Regions from separate parts of the Homo sapiens genome. Here region 1 is linked to region 2. Evidence: promoter capture Hi-C in 16 types of primary human blood cells and fetal thymus (Javierre and others, 2016). All regions are on one chromosome and are shown on one strand. Each heading gives the region's core, a stretch centred on a gene start or on the middle of the fragment in contact. The rest is flanking DNA. Distances are from core to core; before and after follow the strand shown.

Evidence for each region. The method cuts DNA at HindIII sites, captures the fragments that hold promoters and counts their contacts. A CHiCAGO score of 5 or more calls a contact.
Region 1: a fragment that was not itself captured here is called in contact with the fragment with the promoter of SHPK in region 2 in 1 of 17 cell types (endothelial precursors); the score reaches 5.5 in endothelial precursors.

Annotation. Positions count from the first base shown.
Region 1 is chr17:2,848,362-2,852,616 of GRCh38, reverse strand. All of the region lies in intron 2 of RAP1GAP2 (RAP1 GTPase activating protein 2), which reads right to left. Among named protein-coding and RNA genes, the nearest start is that of RAP1GAP2, 54 kb to the right of the region's middle. RefSeq lists an enhancer at 2,510-3,100. The HindIII fragment of the contact is 856 bases long and covers 1,434-2,289 here.
Region 2 is chr17:3,633,518-3,637,682 of GRCh38, reverse strand. SHPK (sedoheptulokinase) reads left to right here and starts at 1,433. Exons shown (of 7, transcript NM_013276.4): 1 at 1,433-1,631. The coding sequence starts at 1,464. CTNS (cystinosin, lysosomal cystine transporter) reads right to left here and starts at 923. Exons shown (of 12, transcript NM_004937.3): 1 at 852-923; 2 at 367-576. RefSeq lists silencers at 558-647, 1,658-1,717 and enhancers at 928-1,177, 3,016-3,881. The HindIII fragment of the contact is 10,697 bases long and covers 1-2,920 here.

The DNA of each region.
Region 1 (4,255 bases), core at 612-3,111, 790 kb after region 2:
TTGTTGTTTTGTTTTTTGTTTTGTTTTTAATAGTCTGGTGTTCAAGCAAACACAGAAAATCCAGGCAGGGAGGGGACCATGCTGGGTGGAGAGGGGAGAGGGACTGCAAACGAATTCGAGGGCCTGAGGCTTCAGCCCTGCCTCTCCAATGCCCACAGCTTCCTGCTGGCACTGGAGTTGGGGTGGAGGGGAGGAAGCCCCAGGGTGGTTCTTAAATGCACCTGGTCTATTTATGAAGCAGCCGTTACCACTGGCCTTGTGCCCCCCACCCCCACCCCCACCCCCTCCCTGCCGGGGTTGTGGGGGATCAGAGATATAGATAGCCATGGACATCTTTTTATAGCTAGAGATTTGAATGACCCGGGCCCCACTCCTGAGATTGGCGGTTAGGCAGGCTGCAAGTACTATGCCAGTAGTGACTTAAGAATTGGTCTGGAAAAAGAATAAAATGAGTGTCCTTGGTAGAGAAAAGGGAAGAGCTCCCAGCAGCATGCAACCCAGAGCTTCTCTTCCCCTCTCTCCCACCGCGCTATAGCACACAGCACCCGAGGACCCACAGGTTAGCTGATGGACCGCTTCAGTTAGATGGCAGGGAAGGTGATGAGGGCGCTGGCTTAGGTCTATCCTAGCGTTGGGTGTATTTTACCCACACACAGAAGGCTGCACCTCAACGGAAGGCCTGATCCTCCTTCCCAGCAGGTGAGAGTGTGGGAGCTAGTTCAGGTCAAGTGCACAGTGGGTAACAGGGTGGCTCACACCTGTAATCCCAGCACTTTGGAAGGCCGAGGCAGGCAGGTGGATCACTTGAGTTGAGACCAGGAGTTCTAGACCAGCCTGGGCAACATAGTGAGACCCCACCTCTCCAAACAACTACAACAGGGAATTGGGATGATGAAGGCACAAAATCCACCATGCAGGTTCCATTATTCATTCTCTTATTCTGGGGTTCCCAGCCCTCTAAGTCCTTCTACAAGCCCAGTGTCACTGCAAACACAAGGCTGTCCCCCAAAAAATCGTAACCTCTCAGCCCCTGACTCCTGAGTCTCTAAGAGGTAGAATTTTCCTGGCAGTGAGAGGTCCCATCCTTCTGCCCCTGCCCTACAAGCTCGCCACCTTTGGTGCATAAACAGCAATTTCCCCTCTTAACTCCCACTCCAGCCCCCACAGCCCATCACACCCACACCCCACAGAGGGGACCCCAAAGCACAAGAAAACCCATCAATAGCAGAGACTGGAACAACCATCAATGCTAGGCTTACCCATTCCACCAGCATTTATTAAACATGTACAGTATGTCCAGCTTTATGCAAGAGACCAGGGCAAGAAAGAAAAATGGAAGACCATCCCTGCCCGAAACAAACAGGGTTAACACACTCCAAACCTCAAAAGAAGACCATTTCCAGCCAGTGTGTGCAGTTAGCCCAGCCAAAGCTTCCCACAATTGGGCCACACGCCACCTCCTTCATAATTCTTTGTCTTAGTGTCATGCTGCTCTGCTGTTTATAATTTTGCTTTAATTACATCAACTTACTTTTTCACTTTTTTTTTTTTTTTTCTTGAGACGTTGTTTTGCTCGTCGCCCAGGCTGGAGTGCAATGGCACGGTCTTGGCTCACTGCAACCTCCACCTCCTGGGTTCAAGCGATTCTCCTGGCTCAGCCTCCTGAGTAGCTGGGACTACCGGCATTCGCCACCACATCGGGCTAATTTTGTATTTTTAGTAGAGACGGGGTTTCGCCATGTTGGCCAGGCTGATCTCGAACTCCTGACCTCAGGTGATCCGCCTGCCTTGGCCTCCCAAGTTCTGGGATTACAGGTGTGAGCCATCGCGCCTGGCCTTTACTTAATTTTTTTTTTTTTTTTTTTTTGAGGTGGAGTCTTGCTCCATCCCTCAGGCTGGAGTGCAGTGGCAAGATCTTGGCTCACTGCAACTTCCGCCAACCGGGTTCATGCCATTCCCCTGCCTCAGCCTCCCGAGTAGCTGGGATTACAGGCGCCCGCCACCATGCCCGGCTAGTTTTTTTTGTATTTTTAGTAGAGACGGGGTTTCACCGTGTTAGCCAGGATGGTCTCGATCTCCTGACCTCGTGATCCGCCCATCTTGGCCTCCCAAAGTGCTGGGATTACAGGCATGAGCCACAGCGCCCGGCTGCCTTTACTTAATTTTAAAAGAAAACGTTATTGCAACCCTAAATGAAAATCCATTATCACTTGCCCTTCCTACCATGAAAACAAACATAAATTTATTAAGTTCTGCCTCAATACTGTTGCCTGACAAAGGCTCTAAGCTTGAAGTACCTTCCTTAAAAAAGCAGGCGGGCCAGGCGCAGTGGCTCACGCCTGTAATCCCAGCACTTTGGGAGGCCGAGGCGGGCGGATCATGAGGTCAGGAGATCGAGACCATCCTGGCTAACATGGTGAAACCCCGTCTCTACTAAAAATACAAAAAATTAGCCGGGCGTGGTGGCGGGTGCCTGTAATCCCAGCTACTCGGGAGGCTGAGGCAGGGGAATGGCATGAACCCGGGAGGCAGAGGTTGCAGTGAACCGAGATCACACCACTGCACTCCAGCCTGGGCAACAGAGCGAGACTCCATCTCAAAAAAAAAAAAAAAAAAAGCAGGCAGTGTTAGGTGTTAGTGACACACCTGCGCCAAACCAAGGCACTGTTCTTGAAGAAATCACAGTTCGAAAGAGAACGGACAGGGAAGAATTTTCACATTACTCTGCTCCAAGGCCACATTCATGAGGCACTTTGGGGTGGGCTGAGAAAGCTGGATACATGCAGACCGCAGGAAATGAGGACGGCAGAAGTCTCTGACGGCAGAGAAGGGGTCTTCCTGCAGGTCTCACCTCACCCAACTTATGCCCCACGGCGTCCCAGCTCTCAGGACCTCCATGGCCTGTTCCAGCCTCCAAAGCTCACAGTCCCAGAGAACAAAGTGCCCGGCAGCTGCCAGCCCAGGTCTCTCTTCCAGTCCAGGGGAACTCCAAAGGCTGAGGGGGCCTGGGTGGGAATCAGGCCTGGGGCGGGAGACAGCGAAGTTAATCATGAACAGAGCGCAGACAGCTGCACAGCCCGTTCCTGAGGGGCCAGTGGGTTGAGGCAGACAGACACGCATGCCTGGCCCTGAAGAAAAGGGCCTTCTGTGCCTGGGAACCGGCTCCAGGAGACATATCCATGAGAAAGCGGGAATCAGCCCCAATCCCCGTGCCCCTCGTCAGAGAGCCAGCCTGCAGCAGACGCCACCTCGTCGCCCCACCCAGCCACCAACTCCCAGCGCCCCACTGCTGGGCAGAATGACTGCCACCGTTCTGGGCTGGGATTGGGGGTGGGTGGGGGCGAGGGGGGCCATGGAGCAAGGAGGGTGGGGCCTTTGATGAAAACCAGATGTCTTCAAACGCCTTGCCCCTCCCCTCCACGGGCAGGGTCCCAGCTATTCCATGGACCACACAACCTTTGGGACAACGCAAGGGTTATAAACAGAGCCTTGGACAGGACGGTCCAGCACCCCCGCTCTCTTCTGCCTTTGAGGGTACACACATACACACACCTGCTCTGGGATATCACTCTGAAGCCCGCTCGCACACAGCTGAACGCTCACACCTGTGCTAAGACACCTCCACTCTTGGCAGGTACATCAGCGCCCCCTGCTGGGCCACAGCACAGTTGCGTCTCTGGGATGCCCCCTTAGGAGGAAGACAGAGGAGGGGGAAGAGGGAGGCAGGAAGGCGTCGGGGGAAGGGAAAGATTGAAGTCATCTGAGGTCGGGAAGCAGTTTCTATTTTTGAAAAGTGAGAGCTGGGCCGGGTGCGGTGGCTCACGCCTGTAATCCCAACACTTTGGAAGGCCGTGGCAGGCGAATCACTTGAGGCCAGGAGTTCGAGACCAGCCTGGCCAACATGGTGAAACCCCGTCTCTACTAAAAATACGAAAATCATCCAGGCGTGGTGGCGGGCGCTTGGAATACCAGTTACTCGGGAGGCTGAGGAAGGAGAATTGCTGGAGCCCAGAGGCGGAGGTTGTAGTGAGCTGAGATCGTGCCACTGCACTCCAGCCTGGGGAACAGAGCAAGACTCTATCTCATAAATAAATAACTAATTAAAAAAAAAAAAAGAAGGAAAAGAGAGAGATGCAGGAAAACTCTCTGCCAACATACTGACTCTCCTCCCAGCTTCTAAAATCCCCTCACAGAACCCATGACCAGCCCCCAAGAGGTCCATCCCACCACAATAGGGTCGTTCCGTGATAAACGC
Region 2 (4,165 bases), core at 184-2,683:
CCAGCCTGGCCAACATGGTGAATCCCCATCTCTACTAAAAATACAAAAATTAGCTGGGCATGGTGGCTCAGGCCTGTAGTCCCAGCTACTCGGAAGGCTGAGGTAGGAGAATCGCTTGAACCCCGGAGGCGGAGGTTGCAGTGAGCCGAGATCGCGCCACTGCACTCCAGCCTGGGTGACAGAGGCTGCAGACTCCATCTCAAAAAAAAAAAAAAAATTGGCTTGGGGTGGTAGTGAAGAAATCTAGCTATTACAATGGTTTGTGGCCACAGAAACAAATACACAGCGTACTAGTGGTATTAAATTTTATGGGAAGGGGGTAGGTAGGAATAACGAGGTTGAGAAACAAGGATATAAAGTGGTTACCTCTGTTGCTTAGGGCGCCTAGCGAGCTCTCACAAAACACAGTAATCCTCAATGTTACTGGAAGAGGCAGAGCTCAGGAGTCCTCCCTTCGCCCAGTGTGAAAACCCGGAGGGGAGGATGGGGTCTCGTGCTGCTCAGTCCCCCGGAGCCCCGCACTCCGCACGTCAACCGGCGCTCTCGCAAAGGTTCTCTCAGCGTCTCCAAAGCAATCTGCAAATTCCCCAACCGAGACCCAGGCGGCAACTGAGCAGAAGGTAAGGGGCTGGGAACGGCACCCACCCCGGCAGCCCGCTGCCCCTGCCTCGGCTGACCACCGCTCGGGCCCTTCCACCCGGGGGTTGTCCCGTGTCGCGAGGCCAGCACTGGTGGCGGGGAAAGGAGCCCGCCGCGGCTGAGGGCGCTGGACCCCCGGCAGGCTGCCCCGCTGACCTGCTGTGCCTCAAGGGGTCCGCCTGGGAAACAGGGGAGGCCGCGTCCGCTCTCACCTGAGCGCCCCCAGGCTCGAGGAACCGCCCTCACGGGACGCATGAGCCTCGCCAGGTGCCGGTCAGGAATGCACCGCGTTCCCCTGCCCGGCTAGACTTTGGGAGAGGCGGGTCCGCTGTCACCTGACCTCCGCCACCTGACTCGTGGGGCCGGATCTCGGCGAGATGAGCTCTGGGAGTTGTAGTTTCCGCGCGTCTTAGACGGACAGAGCGCAGCTGGGTCGGGCCGGGGCGCAGAGATCGGGGCTCCGGCGTGAGGGAAGATGAGGTCCGCTGCCAGGGACACAGAGACTCTTGGAGCCGCCAGCGCCTCCCGGCTCCTTTCGTGAGCGAAGCTCAGACCGCCCTCCATTGGGCGGAAATCAGAGCCCGTGGGGCGGGGCCCCCTTTAGGTCCCGCCTTCCGCCGCCTCTCCGCCTATAGCCGGGGCCCGCCGAGAGGTTGCGTGGAAGCTCGCCTTCCCCGGCCAGTGGGAAGACGAGAAGCCTCCATGTTGGGTGTGGCTGAAAGATTGGCAGGCGACTCCCCGCCCCTGCCCCGCCCCCCTGGGCGAAGAGCGCGGACTTGTGGGGCCGCTGGCTGCAGACTGGAGCTGCGCGGGTCAGGGAGATAATGGCTGCGCGGCCGATCACCCTCGGCATTGACCTGGGCACCACATCTGTGAAGGCAGCTCTGCTGAGGGCCGCGCCCGACGACCCATCCGGGTTCGCAGTGCTGGCGAGCTGTGCCCGTGCTGCGCGGGCAGAGGCGGCGGTCGAGAGCGCGGTGGCCGGGCCCCAGGTGAGTTGGACCCCCGGGGCCGCGCCGCCTCCAGGAGCCTCCTGACCACCCTTTTCCACCCCAGGAGGCCTCCCTGACAGCCCTTCCCGCAATGAAGTCTCTATTCCAGCTTGTCCCCAGCTTCTCCAGGGGCCCGTCTGCCTGCAGCAGCTGTGCTCATGATCCCTTAGGTCTGGTCCCAGAATCCTTCCCACCTGCTGGGACCGATTCCCCCCCGCCCCCTCCCCGACTCTCTGGCTTCTTCTGGGGGCCTTGCGCTTGGCGCTGGATCCCTGTGCTCTCTGTCCCCTGACCTTGGAGGAACTGATCTCTTGTGTGTATGGAATGACCACAGGCCTCCCTTTCACTCTTGCTGCTCTCCGCTCCTCACACCTGCCCTGTGACCTCAAGTTCAGGATTCAGTTTGTTGCCCAGGGCAGAGTCTGGGTTTTCCTCCGGAAATCAGATGTCAAATCAGGCCTAACTGGCTCCTGGCTCATTCCACAGAAGCAGAATGCGGACCAAGAAACCTTTGGTCAGCCGGGCGCGGTGGCTCACGCCTGTAATCCCAGCGCTTTGGGAGGCCGAGGCGGGCGGATCACGAGGTCAGGAGATCGAGACCATCCTGGCTAACACGGTGAAACCCCGTCTGTACTAAAAATACAAAAAATTAGCGGGGCGTGGTGGCGGGCGCCTGTAGTCCCAGCTACTCGGGAGGCTGAGGCAGGAGAATGGCGCGAACCCGGGAGGCGGAGCTTGCAGTGAGTCGAGATCGCTCCGTTGCACTCCAGCCTGGGTGACAGAGCGAGACTCCTTCCCTTCCTTCCCTTCCTTCCTTCCTTCCTTCCTTCCTTCCTTCCTTCCTTCCTTCCTTCCTTCATTCTTTCCTTTCTTTCTCTTTCTTACCAAGTCTCGCTCTGTTGCCCAGGCTGGAGTACAGTGGCGTGATCTGGGCTCACTGCAACCTCCGCCAACTGGATTCAAGTGATTCTCCTGCTTCAGCCTCCCGAGTAGCTGGGACTACAGGTGTGAGCCACCGCGCCCGGCTACTTTTTGTATTTTTAGTAGAGACAGGGTTTCGCCATGTTCGCCAGACTGGTCTTGAACTCCTGACCTCAAGTGATCTGCCCACTTCAGCCTCCCAAAGTGCTAGGATTACAGTTGTGAGTCACTGCGCCTGGCCCAGCTTTGTTTTTCACAAGCTCTTGCCACATACATGGACACGGTTGTTTAGGGTTCAGAGCCCATTTGGCTCAGAAGCATTTCTGAGGATAGGGATTTCAGGAGCACTTTGTATCTACATAGAAGCTTTCAAGATTAGTTTGGTTGGGACATTAGGGCATATTAAAAGGATTCTTACTTAAAGGACTATGAATTGGAGGCAAAGTTGGCTCTGACCCTGGTGGGGTGAGCAGGAGAGCTGGCATTAGGGGAGAGTAGGCTCAGAAAGTGCCAGTTTCTCCTGAAATAGAGCACTTCTTTTTTTTTTTTTTTTTTTTTTGAGACAGGGTCTCGCTCTGTCACCCAGGCTGGAGTGCAGTGGTGCAATCTCTGCTCACTGAAACCTCTGCCTCCCGGGTTCAAGTGATTTTCGTGCCTCAGTTTCCCGAGTAGCTGGGATTACAGGTGTGCGCCACCATGCTTGGAGAATTTTTTTGTATTTTTGGTAGAGATGGGGTTTCACCATGTTGGCAAGGCTGGTCTCAAACTCCTGACCTCAACTGATCTGCCTGCCTCGGTTTCCCAAAGTGCTGGGATTACAGGTGTGAGCCACCGCACCCAGCATGGCCACTTTTTTTTTTTTTTTAATTGATCACTCTTGGGTGTTTCTCGCAGAGGGGGATTTGGCAGGGTCATAGGACAATAGTGGAGGGAAGGACAGCAGATAAACAAGTGAACAAAGGTCTCTGGTTTTCCTAGGCAGAGGACCCTGCGGCCTTCCGCAGTGTTTGTGTCCCTGGGTACTTGAGATTAGGGAGTGGTGATGACTCTTAACGGGCATGCTGCCTTCAAGCATCTGTTTAACAAAGCACATCTTGCACCGCCCTTAATCCATTTAACCCTGAGTGGACACAGCACATGTTTGAGAGAGCACAGGGTTGGGGGTAAGGTCACAGATCAACAGGATCCCAAGGCAGAAGAATTTTTCTTAGTACGGAACAAAATGAAAAGTCTCCCATGTCTACTTCTTTCTACACAGACACAGCAACCATCCGATTTCTCAATCTTTTCCCCACCTTTCCCCCTTTTCTATTCCACAAAACCGCCATTGTCATCATGGCCCATTCTCAATGAGCTGTTGGGTACACTACCCAGACGGGGTGGTGGCCGGGCAGAGGGGCTCCTCACTTCCCAGTAGGGGCGGCAGCACGGCCACTTCTTGAAAACTTTTCTGCCCTCCCTCCCCAGCTTTCAGCAGGCTGTTCTGTGCTTACAGGCTCACCCAGTGTGTCACACCTATTTAATGAAGTGCTTAGCGGAGGCCAGTCATTAACCCCCCCACACCACATATGAATCGTGCTCTGGGACAAACAGCACTGCTGTGAGTTAGTCTA